Linked DNA regions of Homo sapiens: all the other regions are linked to region 2. The links are contacts of gene promoters, found by promoter capture Hi-C in blood cells and fetal thymus (Javierre and others, 2016). All regions are on one chromosome and are shown on one strand. Each heading gives the region's core, a stretch centred on a gene start or on the middle of the fragment in contact. The rest is flanking DNA. Distances are from core to core; before and after follow the strand shown. Region 1 overlaps LINC01787 (long intergenic non-protein coding RNA 1787). Region 2 holds the start of PTBP2 (polypyrimidine tract binding protein 2). Region 3 overlaps LINC01787 (long intergenic non-protein coding RNA 1787). Region 4 has its middle 140 kb from the start of LINC01787. Region 5 has its middle 160 kb from the start of LINC01787.

Region 1 (2,700 bases), core at 29-2,528, 400 kb before region 2:
GTCTGAGGGATTAGCAGATTTATTTGTAAAGGACTAGGCAGTAAATATTTTAGACATTGGGGGCCACATATATATCTCTTGCTGCTGCTTTTTAAAATTTATATTATTTTTAACTGCCAAACCATAATATATTACATTTATGGAGCACAATGTGATATTTTGGCATGTATATGTAATGTGGAATGATTAAATCAAGCTAATTAATATATTCATCACCTACTTGTTTAACATTTTTTGTGATGACACATTTGATATTTACTCATGTATTTTGAAATATATAATACATTACTATTAACTATGGTCACCCTGTGTGACCAAAACTTAAAACATTCCTCTTGTCTAGCTGAAACTTTGTCCCTTTGACCAGCAGTCCTCAAACCCATCTTGCCTTCCCACCCACCTCCCCACCCCCACACCAGGCTTCTGGTAACCATCATTCTACTCTCTATTTCTGTGAATTCAACTTTTTTGAGATTCCATATATAAGTGAGATCATCCAGTACAGCAGTCCGCCCTTATGCATAAAAGATATGTTTCAAGGCCCCCAGTTGATGCTTGAAACTGCAGATAGTGCTGAACCTTATGTGTACTAAGTTATTTAGGTCTAGTAACCAAAATGGCTACTAAGTGACTAACGGGCAAGTAGTGTATACAAAGTTAATTTGCTGGACAAAAGGATGGTTGATATCCCAGGTGGAATGAAGCAGGAAGACAAGAGATTTCATCATGTTACCCAGAATGGCATGCAATTTACAAATTATCAACTGTTTATTTCTGAAATTTTTCATTTAATATTTTTAGACCATGGTTGAGCCTAGATAACTGAAATTTTGAAAAGCAAAACTGGAGATAAGTGGAAAGTACATATTTGTCTTTCTGTGCCTGGTTTGTTCCAAATGACATGATTTTGTTCTTTTTTTAAAGGCTAAATAGTGTTCCATAGTGTATATATATTTTTTAAATATTTTCTTTCTTCATCAGTTAGATGGACATTTAAGTTAATTCCATATCTTGCCTATTGTAAATAATGTTGCAATGTACATGAAAATTTACACATCCCTTCAACATATCTATTTCAATTCTTTGGATATATTCCCAGAAGTGAGATTGCTGGATCATATGGTAGTTCTACCCCCATATCGTTTTCCATAATGGCTGTACTACTTTACATCCCCACTAGTAGTATATAAGGATCCCCTTTTCTCCACATCATTGCCAACACTTATTATATTTCATTTTTTAATAAAATCCATTCTAACAGGTGCAGATGATATTTTGTTGTGGTTTTAATTTGCATTTTCCTAATAATTAGGAATACTGAGCATTTTTTAATTAATCTATTGGTCATTTGTATGTCTTCTTTTAAGAAACGTCTGTTCAGGTCCTGTGCTCATTTTTTAAGCGAGTTGCTTTCTTGTTCTTGAGTTATTAAAATTCCTTATATATTTTGGATATTAGCTCCTTATCAGCTGTATGGTTTGCAAATATTTTTTGTAATCTGTGGGTTTCTTCTTCTTCTCAATCCTTTAGAGATTTAAAAATTATTCATAGCTCATGAGCAATACAAAAACAGGCCTTGAGTTGGATTTGGCCAGCAAGACATAGTTTGACAATTCCTGGTCTTGAAGAATGTGTTTATCAGAATAGTACAAATTGAGCTCTAACACTCTCACTCTTATCCTCTTTAGAGTCTCTGCCACCATGAGAGAAATATAAAATTCATGTTTTTTTCATCATCAGGTTTCTGCCTAGGTTTGTAGATGGTAAGTGATTAAACATGGGTACACACGTATTTATGTTTAGAAACCATTTCTCTAGTGATACATAATCTCCATGGATGCAATTTCACTCAAACTGAAGACCACTTCAGTATTATCATGCAAAGCACTTTTTTCACCATGGGGTTAAACCTCTGTAACAAAACATAGGATTGCAATTTTCTCTGCAGAAATAGTCTGTTAAGGTGATCTTTCATATCAAAGGAGTAGTGTGCTTTAAAATATAATTCTTAAGGAATAAAACTGCAGTTTAAAAATGTTAATGCTAATTTCTGGATTCTGTTATCCACGATTTCAAAACAGTCTTGGGTACAGGCTTAGAAAATATAAATACAGTAACATACATACAGTGAGTCCCACACATGTTGTGAGAAAGAATAAATTGGATTCAATTTTATTTATGGTTTTTGGAATCAATACCATTTGTTCAGGGTTATATCTAATATGTGTATATATACATATACTACATTATAGTGAAATTAGTAATGCTAAGTGACTGTTAGTTATAATACATAGTCATATGTAATAGATACCCAAAATAAAATGGGTTAAATAAGATAAACATCTATTACTTTCTCACTTAAAAGTCTTGATGTAAATATTTCACCATTGGTATGGCAGCTCAATAGTCATATTGGACTCAGGCAACATTTGTGCTTCTGCTCTTCTATCTCTAGGACAGGTCTGACACAATAAATGGAATAAATAAACATCTTATTAAAGGCTATTAGGATGGAGTGACATCAGCAAGATGGAGAGGAAAGACTTTCTAGCACTCATCCCCTTGCAGAAACATAAATTCAATCAACTATCCATGCATGAAAATGTTTTCATAGTAGCTAAAGAATCCAGGTGAGAGGTTAGATTGTTTCAGTGGAGCACAGAAATTAAAAAAAAAAAGAGGCGTTGATGGGAGTAAGAA
Region 2 (2,700 bases), core at 127-2,626:
ACCAACCTGACCAACATGGAGAAACCCTGTCTCTACTAAAAATACAAAGTTAGCTGGGCGTGGTGGCGCGTGCCTGTAATCCCAGCTACTCGGGAGGCTGAGGCAGGAGAATCGCTTGAACCAGGGAGGCCGAGGTTGCAGTGAGCCGAGATTGCGCCATTGCACTTCAGCCTGGGCAACAAGAGCGAGACTGGGTCTCAAAAAAAAAAATTCTAAAAATTATACACAATATCATTTAGTATATGAAATTCCAATTAGCAAAGGATAAGAGCTTTGCCTGAAGGAGACACAGAAAAACCCAGAGTGAGTATTGAGAGTAACTGGAGGGACACAGGGAGTATTTGTCATTTTTCAGAATTAGAAGTGCATTTGTCCTTGTGTGTGTTGGGGGTGGAGGTGAAGGGTGCAGGAGAAGGATGGGTACTGGCAAAGTCGCTACTCACTGAGCAAATTTTCAAGCGGGTGCCTTTCCCAATTTTGTTGAGCCTCTGATAAAAACACGTTGAAGTAAAATGTCCACTATAGTATCAAGTAAAAATTGAGACCGTAAGATATAGCAAAGGGAGTCAATTTGCATAGCCCATTTTAATGCTTCTACTTTCTCTAACCAATCTGAAGACTCAGTTGTTCCCACTCCCATCTCCACTTTCCCTTTCATGCCTCCAAATGTTAAACTCCAACTATTGTAGCATTTTAACACATGGCTCCATTTGTGTCTATTTCCACCTAGCGTATTGTGAATATTTTCTACAGGCGCACACTAATCACCAACTGAAGTGAGAATCACATTTTCCTCCACTTGGCTTGGTACTACAGGTCTTGAAGCAAAAGCCTGTATTTCAGTCTGAGGAGTTCTACTTGCTTGAGAAAGTACTGTTGTTACCAAGTGGTCTCGTTCAGTGGGGTAAAGATTTTTGTTTTAGAGGCTGGAGCCGGTCTGCAAATAAAAGATGGCTTAGGAGAAAAGCTATCCAATGTTTTTTCCTTGGCCCGCATAGGTTGACGGTAGCCAAGCTGGTACTTGGCTTGGAGTGAAAAGTGGAGGCTGCCTGGGGGCGTCCTGCAGTCAGGGCAGAGAGAGTGTGGAGAGCTGTTGGGAGGTGTCCCACCCACGCCCCCACAAGGAGGGGAAACCAGGTCGCCGCGGTCTGCAGCAGAACGCCAGGTTCCAGAGGACGGCAGGCGGAGGGCGGAGGGAGAAAGGCGCGCGAAGGCGCGGAGGAGGCGTCGGCTGCGGCGCCCACTCCCCCTAGTCCCAGCGCCCTGCCGCTCGCCTCCCGCTGCCGGGCGCCGGCGCGCTCGGCTCTTTCCGCCGCCGCCGCTGCCGCGCGGTGGCCCGTGCGCCTCGGCACCTTCGGCAATTTCCGTCGGGCCCCAGCCGCCATTTTCTCGCCGCTTGTGTGGCTCGCTGGCTGCGTGGCTCGGTTCTTGTGAGCGAAGCTTTGTCCGGTTCGGCAATGGACGGGTATGTAATCGGGCCGGCGAGAAGGTGTGTGTGAGAGAGGAGTTGGACCGTCCTTCGGCCCGGTCCCGGGCCGGGGAGAAACCCTCCCGCGGCCCCTCCCAGGGCTGGGCTGCCGTTACCCAACCCCCGCCCCATCGCACACACCCCTCCCTTTGCTTCCCCCGGCGGGCTTTGGTCGAGAAAATGAGAAGAAAGCGGGCTTGGAGGCTGGGGAGGCATAGGGGCGATGGCGGGGGTGAGGATCCCGGAGTGGGAGCGGGCACCGGCTTGGCGGCGGGGGATGGGGTGGGAACCCCATAACGTCTCCCCGGTCTGTCCCTGCCCCCTCTAGGAGCCATTTCGATCCGTACCTTGGGACCCGACCCTTGGGTTAGCGGTGCCTGTGAGAGCGAGTGGGATGGGCAGAGACAGGCCTTTGGATTGGGGGAGCCTCTAGGGGAAGAGGAGAGAGGCACCCCATGTGGACCCCAGCCATGAGCAACCTCTCCGGCCTCGCCCGGCCCTCCGTGGTCGGGAGAGATGCCGGTGGCGGGAGCTCCGGGGAAAGCCTAGTGGGAGCCGCTGGGGAAGGGGGGAGGGCGTGCGGCGGCGGGAGGAAGGGGGAGGGCAGATGTCATACTCCTTTGTTTTCATTTGAGTCTGGTAGTGGGGGCGGGAGGGAGGAAAAAATGCCTTTTTGTGGGGACTGAAAACATTCAAGGCTTGGCAAAAGGGCCCAGAAATTAAATCATCTAAAAAACGAAGTGTTTGAAGCCGACATCAGTCACATGGGCAAAGGCCAACAGCAATGGCAGAAACAAGAGCAGATAGTCAACAAAGGGCTATCTCTTTAGCTACTTTGGTCAGTTTCTGGAAAAACGACTATAAAAACCCAGAACCATGCTGCATCTTTGCGAACCTGAGTCAAGACGGAATGCTGAGTGAGGTGAGAGGCAAGACTGTGAAATGGTAGGGACCGATGTCTCGCTCATATGCTTCACACCTGAAAAGACTCAGTAATTTAACTCAATGTTAGAAAGGGGGCACGCTTAAGGTCAAAAATACAGCAGTATGCAGCTCTTTTGGGAGTGTAAACATAGTATCATTTAACAAGTACATTTATTAAAATCAGTGAGTATTTGAAGAATCAACAATTTGGTTAAGCGCCTAGAGTTTGGTGTGTTTTAAAAGGTACTAAAAACAAGATTTTATAAAAGTTAACACAGTCTCACAGAATTCAAATCATCCTAGATGTT
Region 3 (2,700 bases), core at 83-2,582, 360 kb before region 2:
TAATAATGTCTTTTTTGGATTTACACAGAAAAACTGGATACTATGTTTACTATGTTTAGTACTTTTTTATTTTTGTATCAATAAGTACCTTGTAGCAGAGGCACAGAAAGAGGGGCAGCTATTTATCAGAGCCAACATCTGCCCCCTCCTTGTTCCCCACCACAGTCTAGGTTTGTGGGAAGATGGTTACCTGAGTTGGCACACAAAATTGAAAATAAGGAGTAAAGAGGAAGGAAACAGAATAAATGTTGATAGTAGCATTTTCCCATCCCCAGATATCTTTTCCTTATTTTCTGTCTCTGTATGACAAAGGCATTAGAAAGAAGGAAATGTACCTTCCCTAAGGAAGGTAGGGGATTTATGAAATTGTAATTATTTCTGGTCAACTGATAGAGTTTCTGGTAAAAAAAAAAAATGAAAGAGATGACTCATATGACTTATGGTCTTTACGTTCTGTGATACTTGAGTCACTGAAGTAGAACTGAATGAATTGATCCATATTAGAAATGGAGTCTTTCCTGGAAAATTCAGCTATATGACTCCTTTACCTCTGACCTGTATCTGAAATTGAAAACTTACCACTTCTGTCTTCGACCTCTCTTTTCTTGCTGGAAAATATGCTAAACAAATAATTACATCATGGTAACAATAGGCCAGGAAATTTCCAAGCATTTGGCAAATTGTAAATCAGTAACTGGTAGAATGGCTGATACTAAAGTTTTCCAGAGTCTCCAGGATAGTCTATCCTTTAACTCTGTAAGCAAATAGCTTTTCCTTTTCAGACTCCACAATTTCCACAGTAAAACTGAAATTCTAAGAAAAGCAAGGTAACATTTTTTCTGTAATCTTATAGATGTTATTTTTTTTGTTTGTTCTCTCAAGAAAAATTTAACCCCTATTAGACATATGTTGAAATTGTAGATTTCCCACTTCCTATCCCACTCATCTCGGAAGTGTGCCAATTCTCAGATGATACAAAAATTTTATACCGCTGGAAGTCTTCACTTTAAAGAGATTCAAATGTTCTTTATTATTTTATGGCCTTAACTTGAAAATACAATGCAATAGAAAAAAATAGCAGCTACCAAACATTGAAAATAATTATTTTTCTGTTAGGAATTGTTTTTGCACTAAAAACAAATAAGTGTAAAGAGAGATTGGGATTAATCCCCCAGGCTATTTTTAGCTACAGGTAACATAAAACTCCAACTAAAGTCATTTAAATTGCCGAAAATTAATTATATCCCATAACAAAAGCTTGACAGCAGGAAATTCTGGACTTAATTCAGCAACTTAACAATGTCCGATTTCTCTATGATTTTCTCTTGGTTTTCACTCATGGTCACAAGATGGCTCCAATGGCTCCAACTATCACTTCCATACACACAACATGTAAAGATAAAAAGCACAAGCTTTTATTAGGTGTCTCTTTTTAAGGGTAAAGAAAACCTTCTGAGGTACTCCCAGGAACCCTCTTTCTTTTATTTAACTGACCGCAGTGCAGCACATGACCATCTTTTGCTGACATGGGAATAAAATGATTATGATTGGCCTCAACATTTATTCCTCTAGTTTTGAGAGTGATCCAGGAAGCACTTAAGAACCCAATACTTGAATAAAATAAAGATTTTATTAAGAGGCCGGGCGTGGTGGCTCATGTCTGTGATCCCAGCACTTTGCGAGGCCGAGGTGGGTAGATCACCTGGGGTCAGGAGTTTGAGACCAGCCTGGCCAACATGGTGTAACCCTGTCTCTACTAAAAATACAAAAATTTGCTGGACGTGGTGATACGTGCCTGTAATCCCATCTACTCAAGAGGCTGAGGCAGGATAATTGCTTGAACTCGGGAGATGGAGGTTGCAATGAACCAAGATCACGCCACTGCACTCCAGCCTGGGTGACAGAGCGACACTCCATCTCGGGAAAAAAAAATATATATATATATTAAGAATAATGAGGATGGGAGCTATTTACCAAAGGAGGAAAACAACAAAGGATGGGGTAATACTCTAGAGCTGGTAACCACAGGAGGTGTCACCACATCTAAGGCATGAAGAGGCAGGAAAAGAAGAGAAAAGACCATGAAGCATGGGCCATCCAGCAAAAGCTGTAGCCTGCCACAGAGTGAGGCAGCCACATGTGACTCCACAGGGAGCAGCCAGGAGAATGAATTCCTCAACCTAACTGTACTCCCTGTCTCTCATCCCCCCTATAGACAGAGCCTAACCAGAAGCCAGAGAACATGGGAACTCAATGATGCATCCTGTATGTCAGCCTCCTGGGCGCAGAGCAGGATTGTAAAGCTTGAGGAAGCTGGAAGATGGCTCAGGAGAGACAGCAGCTCTCCATCACATTCATAGAGCACTTACCTCATGCTAGGAAGTATGATAAGTGATCTATATGCATAAAACAGGGATTTCACATGACAACTTCAACTGGGTAAATATGCTTTTCACCACGCCCCCAGGAAAGAAATAGCAACATTGTTTTTAAAGATCCTTTGAGGAGAAATTGCTTGGGAAATGCCAAGGCTGAGTGGAGAAAGTTTGTAAGCAGCGAGGCCAAATATTCTGAACCTGAAAGACGGGGAGATACCCCAAACCTGGGAAGGGGTGGGGGTTTTGACTGGTTTTGCAGGTAGTGAAGATCCACACCTAATTCAGTTTCTGCTCTCTCAGAAGATACAAGGCCTTGGAGTGA
Region 4 (2,700 bases), core at 168-2,667, 490 kb before region 2:
TCCTGCTAATTATTGCTTCATTTTTATCTATTCTAAGACTCGCTGGCCAGAAGCCTTTTATTAAACAGTAACAGGTTTTCACGTCCTTGGGGCTTTTTTTCTATGGTCTTCAGTGTCTGGCTGTGAGTCCAAATTTCAATTCATCTCATGTGATAGCCTCTATTCTTTTCCTCTCTAGTTTTCTCTCATCCTTAAGAAATAGTTTGCCTCCCATGGAAACCCCTCCCAGGCCTTCAAATTGTGCAAGTGGGCCTTAGGAAAGTTGTGTTCCAAAAGCCCCTCATTGTGACACACTTATCACTAAGTCATAGCAAACCCTTTTTTCTTCTGATAAGTTACACACAGATGCCCCAGTCCAGAGGGTCTGTTCAAGTATCCAGGGGCCTCCCTGTCCCTTTGCCCTGTGGCTTGAAATGGTTTGAGTTTGTCTTCAGATGTTGGTCAGATTTATTTTCTTCTTTTTCTTGACGACACGGAACAATCACCCGAGATAACCTGCTTTCTTTTCAGACCTTTTTCCTTGATATTTCTTTTCTTGGAGTCATCTCCTTTCAGTAAAGTTGAAGGTATATCCTCACATTATATTAAAAGCTTCAAAACTGTAAATCTGCGAGGCTTCAAGAATGTACTCTCTTCATTTAAACGTACTCCTTTCTGATCAGAAAGATCAATAACTTCCACAGCATGTTTTTGCTAAGAATGAGTATGTTTAAGGCTCTTATCTCCTTGACTCGAATAAATTACTAAAAGTACTCATTCTAGTTACTTTGAAATACCATAGAAACATTTGTGGCATTAACACAGTGTATTACAGCTTTTGAAGTTTTATTACTTTTCGGTTCTTTTTTATTATATATTTAAACTGTAATCCCCTTTCTTTTCTTGAGATGATTGTGTTTGCCAAAGACCTGTATGGAAGAAGTTTGCCTTTCTTTAGAAGCATTTTCCTCCCACAGACTCATTCCTTCTGAGGTTGTTATGAATTTTTAATCACAGAAGATGTTACTACTATTATTTTCTAATTCTGAGAGTCACCCCTATGCTTTGACACCACTGGAGCACCTGCAAGGCACCAAATCCAGCATGCTGCCTAGGTAGCAGGTGGGAGGTCTTGATAGAAATGCTTAATTGAGATTTGACCATGACCCACTTTCTAGTGATAAGCAATATTTGAGTATGTGACAACTATACAGTGTCCTAAGATAGGCTGTAGGTTGCTTTTAGCTGGTATTTGCATAGCACTCCTTCTGGCTTTAATACATTACATTGTGCTTTTAGCCACCAAGGAAATGGGAGGGTACTGGCCATCAGCAGTGATGTGCTTAATGTGTCGTGCACAACTTGTGAATAGAGAATGACCCTGAGAATGAAAAGAGGCTGAATCTTAGCGATAAATTCACATAGGAATTTTTGCCTCAGAAATGAACTGGAGATAATCAACAGCAAGAAAGTCCTTGAAATTCAAGAGATCTAAAGAAGCTGAAAATTAATCAGCTGCCACAAGGTGGCGAAATCACATTGATGTCCTTCTTACTGCTCTATTTCCTCATAGAAACCTTTTAATGTCAACTATCTGAGGACAAAGGTGTCATTTCTACATTTAAATAAAAACCACTTATCACCAAGATTTACAAACCATTTCAGTGCATTCAGACAGCTTTCTGGGTATACTGGATAGTGTGTGAATAAGTAAGGTGACACTGCCAAATATAAAAAGCTAAAAGTACATTTTGTTTTCTCATAGCTACGTGTGAGAACCTGTGTTCTCCCCATATTTGATGTCCATTTGCTAAAGATTAAGAACAGAAAGAATTTAGGATATATTTTAGAGCATGTTGCAGAAATTCTGTGAAGTGCAGTTTGCTTTAGCTATAAGGTGGGTACATGAACAAAGATGCACATGCTTTTGTAAACATTTCAAGTGCCATCACAGAGAAAAAGGGCAGTGTCAGGATGCAGTGGCCCTGTATCCTGGGCTGCTGCTCACCAAAGCATGAACTCTGCTCTTATTGGTGTTTTCAAATCCCAACACATCCTTTTATATTTTTAGGGATTTTATTGAACACCAGCTGCCTCTTATTTTAACATATTTGATAACAATACTTCAAACTACTGTTGTGGTGATAAAATGAGTGAATTCATATAAACATAGCTGCTACTAGCCAGAAGCACATTTGGAGATTAGACAAAGATGCCTCTCAGGGTGCACACCTCCCTTCTCTAGGAGACAGAACATGGCAAGCAAAGCTTCCGCTAGATCTCAGCTCACGTGACCCTTTCCTGGCCATCCTGTTGCAGGGATCACTCTGTGCAATCGTATGTCCAGGGTCTGCATGTAAAGTACTTAAAATAATGCCTGGCACAAAGAAGATGAACCCTCTAAAAATCATCATCATCTTCATCATCATCATCATCATCACCAGCACATCCCTAGTGGCCTTGTCATTGTAGCCTTACTATGTCTAGTTTATTCTACAGGTGTGTGAGAAATATATCTATAGATATGGTAGCAGGGAGATACAATGCAGATTAAATAACTTTATAAACAAATATGCTGACCTGATGGTGAAAAGCACAATAAAAAATTATGAGTCAGAGTGGTGTGAAATCAAGACCGTAAAAAAAATAGAGAAGGTGTAAAGGGTAAGACCTTTTTACAATGGTAGATCCCCAGCCAACCCCCATTGTAACCCTCCCTTC
Region 5 (2,700 bases), core at 16-2,515, 500 kb before region 2:
CAAAGCTTAGGCCACACTGAGGCCGTTTAGATAGGGTCTCAGAGCCTCATTGTTTCCTATATTTCTGCTCTATTATCTTACAAGTAAGTGTCTGGGTTCCATCTTTAACAGGAAGACAGAAAATGGCAACCTAGAAGATAGAACCCTGATGGAGAGGTGACTTGTGAATAAATATCCCTGAATAAATATTGGTCTCGGCCAATAGTTTCTACATTGCTGGAAGGTTCCTCCCAAAACTGCCTTAGCCAAGGGTTCATTGGTCAGCTTGAGCATGTGATACAATGATTTATTTAATTGAAAGCAAGCAGAAACAGATGGGGACATCAGCTGCTACTGCACATTGGTTGCTACCACTGGAAAAATTGGTTGCTGTAACAAGCACACATGGGGAAAGAACAAAGTGTTGAGATTATCACAAATGGGATTATAAAGGTTAATACATGTGTATAGTTATTACTTTTCAAGCTATCACTAAGATTCATCTTTGAACTGGAAATCAGGATAAACATCTTAGAAATTTGAAATGGCAAGTGTGAAGTTTCTGTATTTACCTATTTGCATGTATGTGTGCTCTTGCATTAAGCCTCTTAGTTTACTGCAATATGCATTTCAACTGAAAAATAAACTCATAGAAGCAGGAAGCTCGTTTAAAATTTTTTTGGCTACAAATCCTCCTCTCCCCACCACTTCTACCCATCTTTTGTGTCTAAAGCATTAACTGGACCCAGGAATTGTTCAATGAATATTTACTTATTGGTGGATTTATGACATAAATATTTTAGTAAGAATCCTCAGATGGTGATATGCAAAGTGAGTTGGGTAGTAGATGGAGAAAAGACTAAATATGGCAAAACACATTTGTCTCAGCTTACTAGTCTGTAGACATACTGATAAGGATCTCTACAGTCCGATGGCAATGGAGCTGAAAAGAAATAATTGTTTTTCAAAAAGACAATGAATAAAAGGAATAATGGGATTTAGAAATTGTTTGGCTATTGTGTGTTCAGAAAAAAAATTAGTAAAAGGCAATGTGAATTTTTAAACTAGGAGAATAATAGAGTTAGGGAAAACTAGAGGGAGATTTGAAGGAAGAATAAGTTTTAGGAGATTCAGAAATATTTAAGTGGAAATACCTAATCATATTTTATTATTATGACATAACATTTTCCAAAAGAAAGTGCCAAGATGCTTTAAAATGGATCTCAAGATGAACATGCCTACTGCTAAATAAAAGCTGATGTCTGGAAAATTATTATCTGAGATGATAATGCCATAAGATTTGATTCTTAAAAATTTGAAGCAAATTTTAACTAGACTATTACCATGCTTTAAATTACGTATATGAATGGGGCTGGAAAACATTCAATGAAAAACTTCAGTAAACTGCCATACTAAATAGACCTATACTTTGATATAGAAAAGAGAATCTGGATTTGGATTTCAAAGATTTGGATTCTTATCTCACCACTGCCACTAACTAGCTATGTAATGTTGGATAAGTCAGATACGCTGACTAGACTCAGTGGCCACCAGTAAAAAGACAATGTTTGTATAGATGTTCTCCAAGATGCCTTCCAGCTCTGAAATTCTCAGATTCTACTCTCTGTATGGACTTGCAGACTTGACTTTCAAAGATGCTGTTCTGTGTTTTCACTTAATACAAGGCTAGTGATTCTGTTTGACACCCAGAGGTCTTATGGAACTAGGACTCAATTCATAAGAATGAACACATTTGATGAGATGATGCAGTAATTGTGTTTTTTGTTTTGTTTTGTCTACAGTAATTCACAATGGCTACCTCAATTTAACCAGTCCCTCGTGGTTATAGTAATCGATGATTTTGCAATATTTTTTGATTCTTTACTTACATATATTATAAGAATGTATCTTGGTATGAAAGTTTTGTCACCAATGGAACACTTGGCAATCTCGGGAGACACTTTCTGTTGTCACATCTACTAGGGTGGTATTACTGGCATTTTGTGGTCAGAGATCTGAAATGCTGTTAAACATTCTTCAATGCACAGGACAATTCCTCTCTCTTCTAACAAAGAATTCTCCGCTCAAGATATCAATAGTGTCGAGTTTGAAAAACAATTTTCCTTCCTCACCTTTCTTAAGTCCATAACAAATTAGCCTTAAAAACACCATACAATATAGCCATTTCATTACTGTCCTGCTCACTTAGTCTTCTCACATGTCCATCCTTGCAAAGTTGAATGGAGGGCACATGACCCTAGTTCTCCTGATTTCTGTGGGGAGAGGGGAGGAAAAAATGAGAACTGACTCTGCAGGATGACCTTAGAGTTGGATCTAAACTCACAAACTAAGTGATTAAGTTTTCAAAAGGAATTCAGAGTCAGTAAAACAACAGGCTTTATTTTTTCTCCCTACTGTATTTTTCACGTTTGAGCAGGCAATTTTGGTGAATAGAAACTAAGACTTACAGGGGAAGCTAATGAGTTTATTCAGGAAGCACAATGTGAAATTAGTGACACAGTTTTGAAAAATTAACTCTCTCAGACAAAGCTTGTAAAAATTGATTAACAAGCTAGTAGTGGCTATTGACAGGACATGCTTTCACATCTTTTAGAAAACAACTTTCAATTATTATGAAAGTATATACGTATTTGGAATTAACACACATTTATGTACTTAAGTGTTCTTTTTTCTCCTAATGTTCCATTTTCAGTTTCTGCA

What was found. The method cuts DNA at HindIII sites, captures the fragments that hold promoters and counts their contacts. A CHiCAGO score of 5 or more calls a contact.
Region 1: a fragment that was not itself captured here is called in contact with the fragment with the promoter of PTBP2 in region 2 in 1 of 17 cell types (M2 macrophages); the score reaches 5.1 in M2 macrophages.
Region 3: a contact is called between a fragment that was not itself captured here and the fragment with the promoter of PTBP2 in region 2, in 2 of 17 cell types (M1 macrophages and M2 macrophages). The highest score is 5.9, in M1 macrophages.
Region 4: a fragment that was not itself captured here is called in contact with the fragment with the promoter of PTBP2 in region 2 in 4 of 17 cell types (endothelial precursors, M2 macrophages, M1 macrophages and 1 more); the score reaches 12.2 in endothelial precursors.
Region 5: a contact is called between a fragment that was not itself captured here and the fragment with the promoter of PTBP2 in region 2, in 1 of 17 cell types (endothelial precursors). The highest score is 5.7, in endothelial precursors.

Annotation. Positions count from the first base shown.
Region 1 is chr1:96,315,991-96,318,690 of GRCh38, forward strand. All of the region lies in intron 3 of LINC01787 (long intergenic non-protein coding RNA 1787), which reads right to left. Among named protein-coding and RNA genes, the nearest start is that of LINC01787, 57 kb to the right of the region's middle. The HindIII fragment of the contact is 7,163 bases long and covers 1-2,700 here.
Region 2 is chr1:96,720,408-96,723,107 of GRCh38, forward strand. It overlaps PTBP2 (polypyrimidine tract binding protein 2), which reads left to right and starts at 1,377. Exons shown (of 14, transcript NM_021190.4): 1 at 1,377-1,465. The coding sequence starts at 1,458. RefSeq lists silencers at 1,143-1,342, 1,573-1,852. The HindIII fragment of the contact is 2,234 bases long and covers 1-1,438 here.
Region 3 is chr1:96,356,905-96,359,604 of GRCh38, forward strand. All of the region lies in intron 1 of LINC01787 (long intergenic non-protein coding RNA 1787), which reads right to left. Among named protein-coding and RNA genes, the nearest start is that of LINC01787, 16 kb to the right of the region's middle. The HindIII fragment of the contact is 155 bases long and covers 1,256-1,410 here.
Region 4 is chr1:96,234,835-96,237,534 of GRCh38, forward strand. No RefSeq gene overlaps it. Among named protein-coding and RNA genes, the nearest start is that of LINC01787, 140 kb to the right of the region's middle. The HindIII fragment of the contact is 1,656 bases long and covers 590-2,245 here.
Region 5 is chr1:96,217,533-96,220,232 of GRCh38, forward strand. No RefSeq gene overlaps it. Among named protein-coding and RNA genes, the nearest start is that of LINC01787, 160 kb to the right of the region's middle. The HindIII fragment of the contact is 2,524 bases long and covers 4-2,527 here.